Regions from separate parts of the Homo sapiens genome. Here region 2 is linked to region 1. Evidence: promoter capture Hi-C in 16 types of primary human blood cells and fetal thymus (Javierre and others, 2016). All regions are on one chromosome and are shown on one strand. The core of a region is centred on a gene start or on the middle of the fragment in contact, and the rest is flanking DNA. Distances in the headings are between cores, read along the strand shown. Region 1 holds the start of BLTP3B (bridge-like lipid transfer protein family member 3B). Region 2 has its middle 3.5 kb from the start of CFAP54.

Region 1 (4,611 bases), core at 1,666-4,165:
CAGGCCTCACATGATGTCTAGTATTAGAAACTAGTATGTTCAACTATTTCCTGGTAAACTATATTCTACTGTATCCCAGACCACTAGGTCAATGTAGTGACATCTTCATTACTGGATATTCTATAAAATTAAACTTGAACCAGGTAATTTCAAAAGTTCATTCCTTCCTGAGTAACTATAATTTATCACAACACCTGCCTTCTTTTGTCAATTACGAGCTGCCTTTAGATTTCTGAATAACTATTTTTCTTAGGAGATGACAGCAATTAGCAGTAAGATTAACTTATTAACCAAAAATAAAAATTTGATACTCTTTAGTCACCTGAGTTAAGGATGTTTTGAAATATGAAATAACTGAAAACTCAAGTGTCCCAAAAACTCATCTCTGAAAAAAAAAAAAATCCTCATCACACTATTTATCACACAGCTATTACAAATCATACAGATTTAGAAACTAACCCTAAGGGCCAGGCACGGTGGCTCACACCTGTAATCCCAGCACTTTGGGAGGCCAAGGCAGGCGGATCACCTGAGGTTGGGAGTTTGAGACCAGCCTAACCACCATGGAAAAACCCTGTCTCTACTAAAAATACAAAATTAGCCAGGCGTGGTGGCGCATGCCTGTAATCCCAGCTACTCGGGAGGCTGAGGCAGGAGAACTGATTGAAGCCAGGAGGCAGAGGCTGCCGTGAGCCGAGATCATGCCATTGCACTCCAGTCTGGGAAACAGAGTGAGACTCTGTCTCAAAAAAAAAAAAAAAAAAAAAAAAAATATATATATATATATATATATATAAAATAAAATAAAAACTAGCCCTAAAGACTCAATTTTCAATATATGGGTGTTTTCTATCTCATGCAGTAAGCCATTACATCTTTGTTCTTAATTTTTTTTATTATACTTTGGTATGCATGCTCTTAATTTTTAAGAGCCCCTCTCAAATGGAGTTCTATAAAAGAATTAAACTCTAATGCACTATCTGTTGATTGAATTAACTTTTCTTCCAAGCATCTAGAGTGGTACTAGCTATGCAGCATCATCCTTGGACGAGTGAGAAAGTAGGCATTCAAATCATTTTCTGCAGATCTGTATTTTCTTGTGGAGCTGGGTATGAGAAAGGCGGGAGGACATAAATTAAAAATAGATAAAACCTTCCAAAATAAGATAGTTCAAGATTGGGCCATATATATAATTTTAAAAGAAACTTTTCAATGAGTGATAACATTAAGAAATACATATTCATGCAGGGCGTGGGGGCTCACACCTGTAATCCCAGCACTCTGGGAGGCCGAGGACCGCGGATCACCTGAGGTTGGGAGTTCAAGACCAGCCTGGCCTGGTGAAACCCAGTCTCTACTAAAAAAATACTACATATATACACATATATATGTGTAGTGTATACACATATATATGTAGTACACATATATATGTATGTGTATATATGTGTATATATGTATATGTATATATGTACATATGTATATATATGTACACACACACACACACGCTGCTATACTTTGCTACTTTTAAGAAAAGTGCTATATCTTATTCAGTATTATAAGTGAGGAAAATATTTGCTGAATCACAGAAGTAGAATTCTGTTCCCAATATATAACCTGTGGTATAAGACAATCTGGGGAATCAAGAATTATGTTTACTATACAAGTCTATAATCATACCCGTGTCTTCCCAAAATTAGTTAAAATTAACTTACAAATCGAACAGAAAGGGATCCTAACCAAGGGCTTTGAGTTCGCTGGTAACAACTTGGAACAAGAGCCTACATTTAGCCTGTGTCTTGAGACAAACACGGAGAAGCCAAGAGCAGTAACAAACTGCCAGCCTTACTGAGTCATGTTTCTGACTAAAACCGCGTTATGAAATGGAGAGAATGACATGTCTTGGGTTTAATCACCACAGATGTTAACTCCCTGAATTTTAGAGTTGCAGAGGAAAAAGAGCAAAAACCAAAAAAAAAAAATGTTCAGTAATAATGATGTGGGTCTCATAGGACTCCAGAAAGAACCTGCCAAAGCTGCGAACTCTGCTTATTTACCTAAAACAAATCCTAACTGTGCAAACAGGCACACCCTCTGATGCCACAGAGCGGGAACGCCAAGGTGGGAGGAATTCAGAACAATCACAAGGTTAACGTTCCACTGAGAACACAGCCTCCACTGAGCGTCCACACTGCGCCAGAAGCCCTCGGTTAACGGAACCGCTCTGCTCCAAGGGGAAGGAGCACCGAACTCGAGTTAGAGCCCAGCACATTAACCAGGCACTTGGGTGACGCCAGGCCACCTCCAGCCTCCGCTCAGTACCGCACAGAGCCGAGCCGGGACGCCCCCAGACGCCGCGCCGGGAGCGATCCCAGCCCGCCGCGCTCCGCACTCCGGGCTCCTCCGCGCGCCCACCCTGGGAGAAGACGCGTCAGGGGCCGATTCGTGAGGCCAGCCCCCGGCGCCGCCGGCGACAAGAGATCCGGGGCCGCGACCTCTGCCCCGGCCAGAGCGGGGAAGTCCGAAGGTCGCCTCCCGCACAGCCGCCAGGCGCCGCCGCCCCCGAAGCCGCAGGCTGACTCCAGTGCGGGCTGGGGTGGAGGCCGACTGGCGCCGACACCGAGGCGCTCACTGACCTGGAGAGGTGCTTCAAGATTTGTTTCTTGATGATCCCGGCCATGGTACCGAGGCTGGAGACGCCGCGGTCTCGTCCTGTTGCTCACTGCCTCCTCTCTTCGTGGCCGTCTCCTCTCTGTCCCGGCTAGCCCGGCCGGCGGAGAGGCGCTGATCGCTCACGACCGGGAGAGACCCAAGGCCCCGGCCAAGGCCACAGCCGCCGCCGAGAACCCGGAGCATCACGCTCAGGCCGCCACGGCCGCCGCGGGCGCCATCTTGGCTGCAGCATCACCTAAGAGACTCGGTGGAGGGCGGGGGCGGGGCGGCTCCAGGCGGGGCCGGCACGAGGCGGGGCGGGGCCAACGCCGGCTCTGGGCGGGCTCTGGGCGGGCTCTGGCTGGGCTCTGGCTGGGCTCTGGGCGGGGGCGGGAGGTTTGTGGCATTGGCGCCAGGGTTCTTAGCCCTCGCGACACAGGGCCCTTGACTCTCAATACACCATCCTTCTTGGCCTTAATCCTCCCTCCTTCCCTCTGCTGGTGTTCCCGCCTCCATCGCTGACCCGTCGCTGATTTTTACTTCCACGTCCTACTTCCCTTATTCATTTCCTCAGAATGTTTTTTATTTTTTTGCTTGTTTGTTTTTTTTTTTGAGACAAGTCTTGCTCTGTCACACAGGCTGGAGTCCAGTGGTACGATCTCGGCTCATTGCAACCTCCACCTCCAGGGTTCAAGCGATTCTCCTGCTTCAGCCTCCTGAGTAGCTGGGATTACAGGTGCGCACCACCACGGCCGGCTAATTTTTGTATTATTAGAGACGAGGTTTCACCATATTGGCCAGTAGGTCTCGAACTTCTCACCTCGTGATCCACCCTCCTAGCCTCCCAAAGTGCTGACATTACAGGCGTGAGCCACTGCACCCGGCCTCCTTAGAATGTTTTAAGAATCGGCCATTAACTCCTGTGCTTGCTTTGCTCTCTTGACCTACTCACCTTTCTTCATATTCTTCCTTAGGTTTTTGTTTTTGGTGTTTTTTTTTTTTCTTTTGTTAAGGTGTCCTGCCTTTCCCTTACCTAAATGTGGCAATTTAATGTTTCCTTTGGTTATTGCTATTCTAAGGGAAGTAAAGGTTGACAATGGTTCCTAGTAGTCTAGGACCTAGGAATTAGAAGGTGTATAATTCAAGTCCTGGCTCTGGTATTTTCTAGCTGTGTTATCCTGGGGAAAATAATTTCTTTACTATTAGTTTCATTTTAATCATCTGTGAAATAGATTAATCATCAGCCTTACCCACTTCACTAGGTTGAACCTAAAGGTGTAAATATCATATGAAAAGTTCTGTAAGGAAGGAAGGAAATTGTTGAACTAGGGAAAACTGTTACAATTCTACACCTCCACCCCACCCAATCCCAAACAGAGCTAACATTTTCAGAGATTAAAATGACGACTTCTGTCATCCCAGCACTTTGGGAGGCCGAGGCAGGCAGATCACTTGAGGTCAGGAGTTCAAGACCAGCCTGACCAACATGGTGAAACTCTGTGTCTACAAAAAAAAAATACAAAAATTAGCTGGGCATAGTGGCGGGCGCCTGTAATCCCAGCTACTCAGGAGGCTGAGGCAGGAGAATTGCTTGAACCCGGGAGGCAAATGTTGCAGTGAGCTGAGATCAAGCCACTGCACTCCAGCCTGGGCGACAGAGCAAGACTGTCTCAAAAAAAAAAAAAATTACTCAGTGTTAAGTCAAGTTTAGCCTAACACTGCCTCCTTACGTAATTGAGTTCAGCCTAAAGGTTTTTCTGTACATCATGAACTTATGAAAATAAGCAGAGGTATAAACCGACCATAGCCCACACCTGTGCCAATCACTGAGTTTTGGCCAGATGTAGCCAACTGTTCAGACTGTGTTCAAATAAGGCAAACACTGAGCTGTAAGCAATCCAGTTGTTTCTGTACCTCACTTCCATTTTCTAGACCTCACTTTCCTTTTGCTGGCCAGAAATC
Region 2 (4,513 bases), core at 1,955-4,454, 3.7 Mb before region 1:
AAAGTCTGCCTCCTGAGTTCAAGCGATTCTCCTGCCTCAGCCTCCTGAGCAGCTGGGCTTACAGGCACCTGCCACCACGCCCAGCTAATTTTGTGTTTTTAGTAGAGACTAGGTTTCACCATGTTGGTCAGGCTGTTCTCGAATTTCTGGCCTCAAGTGATCTGCCTGCCTCCGCCTCCCAAAGTGCTGGTGATAGGGAAGGTTGGAAGGGAAGTGCTGGGAAAGGAAGGGCATGGTCCCTGGTGAAGGCTCCATCCCCGGCCTGTGCCCATGGACCTAGGTGAGGACAGGCACTTCTGCCTTCATGCCCAAATGTTGCATTTGCCAAGACAACCCTGGCCTGCCACGCCTCTATCCTGTGCCTATAAAAACCCCGAAGACCCTAGCAGGCAGACCTACAGGTGGCTGGACATGGAGAGGAACACATCGGTTGAAAAAGACACAAGAGGCTAGATGTCGAGAGGACGTCAAAGAGAGCACGCCAGCGGAAGAGCACACCGATAGACGTTGGCACGCCGCACGGCCATCCACTGGCAGAACGAGGCAGAGTTTGGCTGGGGCAGTCGGAGGAGAGCCCAGGCCGCTAAGCAGCCCCACTCCAGGGGAAAGCCATCTCCCTTCTGGCTCCCCCATCTGCTGAGAGCTACTTCCATTCAATAAAACCTTGCACTCATTCTCCAGGCCCACGTGTGATCCGGTTCTTCCCGTACACCAAGGCAAGAACCCCGGGATTCAGAAAGCCCTCTGTCCTTGCGATAAGGCAGGGGTCTAACTGAGCTAGCAAGCTGCCTATGGATGACTAAACTAAAAGAGCACCCTGTAACACATGCCCACTGGGGCTTCAGCTGTAAACATTTACCCCTAGACACTGCCTTGGGGTCAGAACCCCACAGCCTGCCTGTCTGTATACTCCCCTAGAGGTTTGAGCAGCGGGGCACTCAAGAAGCGATCCACACCCCCATCGCACGCCCTGCAAGGGGGACAAGGGAACTTTTCCGTTTCACTGGGATTACAGGTGTGAGCCACTGCGTGGGCTTTTAACATCTTTAATGTACTGTTTTTTTTTTTTTTTTTTTTTTTTTAAACAAAGCCTCTCTTGGCCGGGTGCAGTGGCTCACGGCTGTAATCCCAGCATTTTGGGAGGCTGAGGCAGGTGGATCACCTGCGGTCAGGAGTTCGAGACCAGCCTGGCCAACATGGTGAAACCCCATCTCTACTAAAAAACACAAAAATTAGCTGGGCGTGGTGGCGGGCGCCTGTAATCCCAGCTACTCGGGAGGCTGAGGCAGGAGAATCGCTTGAACCCGGGAGGCAGAGGTTGCAGTGAGTTGAGATTGTGCCATTGCACTCCAGCCTGGGCGATAAGAGTGAAAATCTGTCTCAAAAACAAAACAAAACCACAAAACCTCTCTCCTGAATACAGAACCAAGTCAAAACCAAGTCAGAATTACTCAGCATACCTTCCAACTCCCCATTGTATTTGATCACACTTCCCTTTCTGCCTCATCTTCTGCCTCCGGATCTATGGCAGCCTGTGGCTCACCACACTAGACAGCTTGTTTATTTAGACTTGCTGTATGTGTTTATGGCTTTGTACCTTACTCAGGCTTTTCTCTCAGTCAGGCATATCCTTCTAAATGCTCTTCATCTTTTTTTTTCTTTTTCTTCATTTGCTCATTCCAACAAAGATGTATTGAGCTGTACTCTGTGCCAGGTGCCAGATTTGGGTGCTAGGTTACCATGGGAAGAAGGTAAATGCTTGTTGCAAGGGTCTTTCTGTGAGTGAGAGGCATTTACGGTCTGGGGCTAAAACATCATCTCCTCTAGAATTCTCTGTTCTCTTTCCAGTTCCGAGATTCATCTTAGAACTCCCACAGTCTTCCTTCCCCCTTGCCCTCCCCTCCCCTGCCCCTCCCCTCCTCTCTCTTTTTTTTGAGAAAAGATCTTGCTCTGTAGCTCAGACTGGAATACAGTGGGGTGATTATAGCTCACTGCAGCCTCAAACTCCTGGCTCAAGTGATCTTTCTGCCTCAGCCTCTTGAGTAGCTGGGATTTCAGGTGCATGTGACCATGCCAGGCTAATTAAAAAAATTTTTTTTAAAAATCAGAGACAGGGTCTCACTGTGTTGCCCAGGCTGGTCTCAAACTCCTGGCCTCAAGCAATCCACCCACCTCGGCCTCCCAAAGTATTGAGATCACAGGCGTGAGTGACCACACCTGGCGGTCCCACATTTCTTAAAACCTTTCTCACAGCACATTCCACAGCATGCCTTTTCTTTTCTTTTTTCTTTTCTTTTCTTTTCCTTTCCTTTCCTTTCTTTTCTCTTTTCTTTTCTTTCTTTCTTTCTTTCTTTCTTTCTTTCTTTCTTTCTTTCTTTCTTTCTTTTCTCTCTTTCTTTCTTTTTCTTTTCCTTTTTTTTTTTTTTCTTTGAGATGGAGTCTCACTTTGTCACCCAGCCTGGGGTGCAGTGGCGCGATCTCGGCTCACTGCAACCTCGCCTCCTGGGATCAAGTGATTCTCCTGCCTCAGCCTCCTAAGTAGCAGGGATTACAGGCACATGCCACCATGTCCAGCTAATCCATAGCATGCCTTTTAATTATGATTATTTGAGTTTGTGTTATCTGCTTCCTGTAGGGAATGTATGGGTTCATCTATGCCTTGTATGGACACTAACAAAATGGTTGCATTTATCTGAATAAATGGATGAAGAAGTTTTAAAAAGTCTACATATTAGGTAGATCATATATATTGTATCTATTTGGGATAGTCCAAATGATTAACAACTAAATTGAGAATTGAAAGAGCACTAACCTTGCATATTCTTTAACAGTCAGTAGCTTTAGATAAAAAAGACTTTCGAATGGGCAAAAAGCTTCCCTGCAGCCTGCGAAGATGTTAATTATAAGAAATAGCAATTTACATTATTTATAAGGAAGCTATTTACAGTACTTAGGCTTGTCAGACACAGTAGTTGCACAGCTCCATTCTTTCATTACAGTGAGAAGAATAAAGCAAAGTGACAAGGAAAGAGAAAGATATTATAATGGCTGCATCTAATTACAAGGAAGATAACACCTCTAAAATGTTAAAAATGCCTCAAATTCAATTTATTTATTTTATTTTTATTATTTATTTATTTATTTATTTATTTATTTATTTATTTATTTTGAGATGGGGTCTAGCTCTGTCGCTAAGGCTGGAGTGAAGTGGCATGATCTCGGCTCACTGCAACCTCCACCTCCCGGGTTCAGGCGATTCTCCTGCTTCAGTCTCCTGAGTAGCTGGGATTACAGGTGTCCGACACCACGCCCAGCTAATATTTGTGTTTTCAGTAGAGACGGGATTTCAACATGTTGGCTAGGCTGGTCTCGAACTCCTGACGTCAAGTGATTCGCCCACCTGAGCCTCCTGAAGTGCTGGGATTACAGGCGTGAGCCACGACACCCAGCCAATTTAATTTAAACTAAATAAAATGTAAACTTCCATCTTATCATAATGATGATTCAGAATATAACACCCATTTAAATATTCAGACAAGCTTCCAAAAACTACTGCAAGTTAAGCATTGTTAGCTTTAGTGTGTGCAAGGGGGAAAGTGACTAAGATGCAATGTTTCATAATTCAGGTATTTGAATTTGCTTAGTCACATTTTCTTTTACCAGTGACTTTGAAATACAAGTGTCTGCCCTATGATAAAGTTTGTTTGTGACAGTAGCCAGATTAGAAGGAAAAACACCACTTTGTCTTTTATTTTTTTCTTTCCTTTTCTGTGACCACTTTAATTAATTTTATCCTGCTGTTTCACTTTCATCAATATAATAGATAGCACTCAGTGGCAAATTACACCAGTTTTTGATCTGCAATGGACAAGTCTGCCATGTTAGAGCAAGAAAAAGATGAGAAAAAAGAGAATTTACCAAGCCGACTTTTAAAAATGTCTATTAATATTTTTGTAAATGCCCAGTGATTATTTCTCTAGGACTACATTCTTTAAAGCCTTACAATTTTTGTTGTTCACTTAGAGAACAAGATAAAATCTTTGTTGATCAAAGGATGATATCTACATCCTGATTAGAGAATTGGACTCCTACAGTGAGGTGTCATTGCGTCTCACTGCTTGCCAGGAAGTTTCTCTGGCTATAATTAACTGTGCCGATGAGCAAAATTATTTTCCTTCAAAGAATATTAGGGTACAGTAGACATGACATATTAGGCCAGCCTCACAAATTAGCACAGGCCCACAGAGCCTGCATAAAATTAGGTCAGACTTGAAAGATATCAGGCTGTGGTCCAATAAGCTTCTTAGTCTGAAATGGAAAATTGGGTTCACAGGGTGTTAGGGTCACTGTCTTTATTTAAGTGTGATAGAACTGGTAACAATTTTCAGGGTTAAAGACTGATTTTTCTAAGCCACCAAATATTTCTGGTTCTTCTCTTAGATAATTTATTGTGTTGCATAATTTATAGAAAAGAAGGTTCTCCATTTTCTCAATACTCATACTTTAATAAATT

The links. The method cuts DNA at HindIII sites, captures the fragments that hold promoters and counts their contacts. A CHiCAGO score of 5 or more calls a contact.
Region 2: a fragment that was not itself captured here is called in contact with the fragment with the promoter of BLTP3B in region 1 in 1 of 17 cell types (neutrophils); the score reaches 7.1 in neutrophils.

What each region holds. Positions count from the first base shown.
Region 1 is chr12:100,139,959-100,144,569 of GRCh38, forward strand. BLTP3B (bridge-like lipid transfer protein family member 3B) reads right to left here and starts at 2,916. Exons shown (of 21, transcript NM_015054.2): 1 at 2,634-2,916. The coding sequence starts at 2,677. BLTP3B-DT (BLTP3B divergent transcript) reads left to right here and starts at 3,097. Exons shown (of 2, transcript NR_186018.1): 1 at 3,097-3,385; 2 at 4,582-4,611. RefSeq lists silencers at 2,331-2,580, 2,901-3,080 and an enhancer at 2,461-3,224. The HindIII fragment of the contact is 10,318 bases long and covers 1-4,611 here.
Region 2 is chr12:96,483,807-96,488,319 of GRCh38, forward strand. No RefSeq gene overlaps it. Among named protein-coding and RNA genes, the nearest start is that of CFAP54, 3.5 kb to the right of the region's middle. RefSeq lists a silencer at 570-767 and enhancers at 1,536-1,585, 1,596-1,735. The HindIII fragment of the contact is 666 bases long and covers 2,872-3,537 here.